Linked DNA regions of Homo sapiens: region 2 is linked to region 1. The links are contacts of gene promoters, found by promoter capture Hi-C in human tissues and cell types (Jung and others, 2019). All regions are on one chromosome and are shown on one strand. Each heading gives the region's core, a stretch centred on a gene start or on the middle of the fragment in contact. The rest is flanking DNA. Distances are from core to core; before and after follow the strand shown.

Region 1 (2,873 bases), core at 93-2,592:
GAGGAATAGGGAAAGCCAAAGAATTGATCTTTTCTGAGTTTGCATCCAGAACATGGGCCACAGAGAAATGGTGAACAAAGTCACCCATTATTATTAACAGCTATGATTTATTCAACATTTCCCTGTTGCCAAGCATTAAATAAGCTGTTTTATCTCCCCACAACCATGAGGTAGATAATGTTAAGATCCCCAATTCAGACCTGAGGAAAAGCGTGATATGAAACAGAGAAAGATTCTGTAACCTGCCATTGCCCACAGCTACTGGGACTTGGCACAGGGTTCAAATACAGGCAGCCTGACTTCTCTCTGAAGGATGTCAAGCCACAGCCACCATACTCACCTAGTCCCCACATAATGATGGCCCAAGGAACTCGCTTCCTCAATTTTTGCTTAGTTTTACTCATTCATTCTTTCGAGAAATAGAAGAATGCCAGACACTAGGCATACAGCTATCAAACAGTGAGAAAACAACAGGCCCCATTTCATGTGCCTTAGAGTGTAGTGAAGGAGACAGAAAATGCCAACAAGTAAACACGCAAAAACTAACTGTCAATGGTTGCTCTAAAGGAACACAAAGTGCCATGAGCAAGGAAATAGGAGGGACCTACTTGAGATGACATAGAAAGTCAAAGAAGGCTTCTCCAGAAAGGGGGCATCAAAGCTGGGACACGAAGAAAGAGAATCAGACAGCCAGACACACAAGAGCCGACAAGATCTCCAGAAGGAGTGCTGCCATGGGGAGCAAGTGTGGCATGGCCCTGGGGTGCAGGCCAGGCCGGGGGCAGGGACTGAAGCAAGTTGTGAAATTTCTGATTATCAGGGGCAGAATGGATTCCTAAGGCAGCCACTGTCTTCTGTTAACTCTGGAGTTTTCTGCATCCCTTTTGCTTTAAATGAGGCATACATGTTTTCATAGCTGTGATGAAACCCCTACAATTCTCCAGTTTAGCATTATTTATTTTACTCTTAAAAAATAACAAAGCTGACCCTGGCAGATGTTTGTACTGGGAGATTCAGATCCATCCAGGCCCCCACTGTTAATAGCCCACGGGAAAGTCCCTGCAGTCTCTCAGGGAAGTCATTCTGTGTAGAATCTGTAATTTCACAGGCAAGTCCTGCAACTTTTTAATTGTTTAAAATTCCCAGAAGGAATAATTACTGAAATTATCTATGAAGGGTTTAATGGACACAGACATGAGAGCTATAAACAATGTGATACTATGTCCTGTTAACTCACAGAGAACGGAAGGGCTGGAACGGGACCCAGCCAGCAGGGTTTGTGACCGCCTCTGCTGTGACGTCACAGCCTGGTGAGGAGGGGGCTGCAGTTCCTCAGGAAACTGCCAGTGGACAAATTCATAAACAAGAGCTCCAGTTCCCTGGAACCTGAGTCGGGAGACCTGCAGCTCACTTTCTCCCTGTTTGCTGGCCAGCAGGGTTTGTGGCCGCCTCTGCTGTGACGCCACAGCCTGGTGAGGAGGGGGCTGCAGTTCCTCAGGAAACTGCCAGTGGACAAAGTCATAAACAAGAGTTCCAGTTCCCTGGAACCTGAGTCGGGAGGCCTGCAACTCACTTTCTCCCTGTTTGCTGGCCCAGACAGGCCTGTGCTAGAGGGCTGGATAGTGTGGTAGTGTGGTGGATAGAGTGCTGCCTCTATCCACAACGCAGCCATATGCTGACTGAAGATAACTTTGTGTCTGGAAGAGCCCTCTGATTTCTTACACTAATGGCCTTACACGACATGGAGGATTTTACATTTGATGGAACAAAGCGCTTAAGTGTCAACTACGTGAAGGGAATTCTTCAACCGACAGACACCTGTGACATCTGGGATAAGATCTGGAACTTCCAAGCCAAGCCTGATGACCTGCTTATTTCTACCTATCCTAAAGCAGGTAGGTGGAAGGGCTTGCAGGGGAAGGGGAAGAGGAGAGTTAGGAAGGTAAGTGGAAGTATGCATTAGTCATGAAATAAAGAAGTTGATCTGGAAAACTCTGGACAGAGTGATATGGCTAAGGAAAGTTACTAGTGGAAACTGAAGCTATACCGAAACATACTAAAATGACATACAAATTTTTAGAATTCAATCTTCCTATGATACTATGATGTACTTCCTTTTTTTTTTTTTTTCACTTTCCCAGGAGAGAGTGAAAACAGTTAAGAGCAAAAGGGTAGACTTGTTTATTTATTCATTCCCAATCTAGGCCCTTATTGTAGATCTTGTAAAAAGCTGCTTTGAGTGTGTGAGCTAGAAAGGTGATCCTGAGTCTGATTTGGGAAAGAAATAGGGGAGCTTTGGTTCTGCAATGCTGATATCACCTCAGCAGCCCTCCCATCTCAGGGTCTGAGAACCATCCTTCTGATTTCCACCTTCCTTTGTGGTAAGTTTTGAACCAACTGCCTTATCTCAACAATCAGTTTAACAAAGTTGTCTGTAAAAGTAGGACTAGCTTAAGCCGAGCCACCACGTCATAAAAATTGGGTGATGATGAGGTGGAAATAGTTCTCTATAAATATTTTTGCATATCTACATATCTACTAGAAATACATTACTGGGTCCACACACAAATTGTATATACATTTGCTCTTTGCAAAATCAAGCTGTCAAAAACTCTTGTTATACACACACAAACACACACACATCAAAAAATCTAAACCTCAGTATTTTCTGAGACTGTTCAAAATCCTCTTTTGTTCTTATCTCTCAAGATCCTGACAGAAGATTCTGCAGGCACATGGAGGCCTTGGTCTCTTCTTTGTCCATCTGTTTCATTTTGGTCCTGATTTCCCAATCTTACTCATCAGGAGCCCATTCAGGATCAAATTTTTCTGAATGTAAATTTCTAAAAGTAGCCACTGGTGAGGATCACATC
Region 2 (2,826 bases), core at 235-2,734, 260 kb after region 1:
GGTTGTAGCTGGGCAGTGTTACATGAGCACCAGCTTACAGTGGTTGACCTCCTGACCTTATACTATTTCCACATCTTTTTTCATTGTACTTATGGCAAAATCTAAGTTATGGTAGCTGAAATAATCCCTTGCCTTTCTGTGTACATTTCACAAAATTTAAAGTTAATGAAAGAAAAGAAACCTTTTTAAATTCAGCAAAATATACATATATGTGTGTGTGTGTGTGTGTGTGTGTGTGTGTGTGTGTGTGTGTGTGTATTTTAGTTCCTCTGCTTCATCCTGGTCAGTATTTTCAAATGCTGTTTAATGCAGTAAAATCTACACAAAACATGTTCTGTGTCAAAAAGAAAATAACGGGCAGTGAAAGATATGTACATTTGAATTTGAAAAGGTTCATTGTTTTCACTTGACTCAAGTGAAATGTTTTTTATTCTGTTCTATTCTGAAATTCTCATGGTTTTCTTTTACCTTATCATTGAGGGAAGTAAACCCCGTGTTAAGCTTAGTCACAAAATAAAAACTCCCACGGACTTCCCTCCCAGTGTAGCTGAAGGTTAATGTCCAGGGAGATAGCCTTGACTGAGTCAGAACTAAAATAAGGGTGTTATTTAGAGCCAGATACTCTGGTGCTACAGCCACTACAGCCGTGTCAAGAGCTCCTGACACACTGGAGGCTGTCACTGGTGATCTGGGCGTTCTCCTAAGTCAGCATTCCTAGCTAAAAATACTGCCATTCTGTATTGGAAACACAGCTTCCTCTAATTTGTCTGTTTTGACCAGAACACAATGTTATCTTTTTAAAAAGCTGTTTAGGTGTGAGAATGTATGTTAATGGATCACAATACGAATAAAAATAAAAGAATGAAAAGATAAGTGATTTGAAATATAAAGGAACTAGTACAGAGACATTTTCTAGTTAAAGTTTCTAAATGGTCAGAGAAAAATCACCTAACCTATGAGAGAAAATTTTAAGATTTTTTTTTTTTTTTTGAGACAGTATCTCGCTGTGTCTCCCAGGCCGGAATGCAGTGGCATGATCACAGCTCAGTCATAGCTCACAGGCTCAAGCGATCCTCCTACCTCAGCCTCCTTAGTAGCGCCTACAGGTGCATGCCACCGTGCCCGGCTAATTTTTCTATAGAGATGGTGTGTCACCACGTTGCCCAGGCTGGTCTCCAGCTCCTGAGCTCAAGTGATCCTCCTGCCTCAGCCTCCCAAAGTGCTGGGATTACAGGCATGAGGCACCATGCCCAGCCCAAGAATGTTTTTAAATTGACTAAACACTGCTTATTTGAGGGACCATGGGAGAAAAAAAAATTGTGAGGTGGCTTATAGATTTCAAACTATAGTGATTCTGATTGATCGAGCTGTCTTTCTTGAGGAAAGTTACGCCAAAGGCAACGAGCTAGACTGAGCTGTCTGGGTGTCTGGGTAGGGACGCAGCTCACCAGGGCTTGCCCTCTTTAGATGCCCTCTGCAGGCAGTCTAGGGACTTCTCTCAAGATGTCCAGTTTGATTAATTGCATGATGACAGTGTGCTTGGTGCCATGAGGGGTATAAAGATTCAACAGAGGCTGGGCGTGGTGGTTCACGCCTGTAACCCCAGCACTTTGGGAGGCCAGGGCGAGCGGATCACCTGAGGTCAGGAGTTCGAGACCAGCCTGTCCAACATGGTGAAACCCCGTCTCTACCACTAAAAATACAAAAATTAGCCTGGTGTGGTAGCACATGCCTGTAATTCCAGCTACTCAGGAGGCTGAGGCACGAGAATCACTTGAACCCAGGAGATCGAGGTTGCGGTGAGTCAAAATTGCACCACTGCACTCCAGCCTGGCAACAGAGTGAGACTCTGTCTCAAGAAAACTAAGCACAGGCTGGGCACGGTGGCTCACGCCTGTAATCCCAGCACTTGGAGAGGCCGAGGCGGGTGGATCATGAAGTCAGGAGATCAACACCATCCTGGCTAAGATGGTGAAACCCCGTCTCTACTAAAAACACAAAAAATTAGCCGGGCGTGTTGATAGGCACCTGTAGTCCCAGCTACTCGGGAGGCTGAGGCAGGAGAATGGTGTGAACCCGGGAGGCGGAGCCTGCAGTGAGCATGGATCGCGCTACTGCACTCCAGCGTGGGTGACAGAGTGAGACTCCGTCTCAAAAAAAAAAAAATGTCTACTTAAGGGCCTCCTGGTGTTCTTAAGGAGATGAGGAGCACCTTTGCGATACAGAACACAACATTATATCCAATGAAAATCTTACCCACTCACTGCATGGGACACACAGTGGGTGCTATGGCTGCTGAACAGAAGATCGATAAGGCCTGGAATGTCAAGAAAGCTTCCTGGAGAAGATCTTGAGCAGGTACTTGAGGACTGGGCAGGTTTCTGATAAGCAGAAAGTTCAGGAGAAAAAAAAGGGACAGTGGTATTCATCCAGAAAATCGTATGTCCTTTGTATGTTTCACCCAGTGCTGGAAATGTTGATCATCACTTTTAAAGATAATTCTAAAGTCACCTTGCAACAACCCTGCATTTATTTAAGATCATATATCATATATGTGTACATGTTTTTGTTTTGTTTTTTTGAGACTAAGTCTCGCTCTATCGCCCAGGCTGGAGCGCAGTTGCGCCATCTCAGCTCATTGCAACCTCCACCTCCCGGGTTCAAGTGATTCTCCTGCTTCAGCCTCCTGAGTAGCTGGGATTACAGGCACCTGCCACCACACCCGGCTAATTTTTGTATTTTTAGTAGAGACAGGGTTTCACCATGTTGGTCAGGCTGATCTTGAACTCCTAACCTCATGATTCACCCACTTTGGCCTCCCAAAGT

The links. The method cuts DNA at HindIII sites, captures the fragments that hold promoters and counts their contacts. A contact is called where the count stands out against the background at its distance.
Region 2: a contact is called between a fragment that was not itself captured here and the fragment with the promoter of SULT1C4 in region 1, in 1 of the 25 tissues and cell types used here (lymphoblastoid cells).

The regions. Positions count from the first base shown.
Region 1 is chr2:108,376,612-108,379,484 of GRCh38, forward strand. SULT1C4 (sulfotransferase family 1C member 4) reads left to right here and starts at 1,343. Exons shown (of 7, transcript NM_006588.4): 1 at 1,343-1,895. The coding sequence starts at 1,727. The HindIII fragment of the contact is 17,622 bases long and covers 1-2,873 here.
Region 2 is chr2:108,636,890-108,639,715 of GRCh38, forward strand. The region is part of intron 1 of LIMS1 (LIM zinc finger domain containing 1); the gene reads left to right. Among named protein-coding and RNA genes, the nearest start is that of LIMS1-AS1, 40 kb to the right of the region's middle. The HindIII fragment of the contact is 4,573 bases long and covers 1-2,826 here.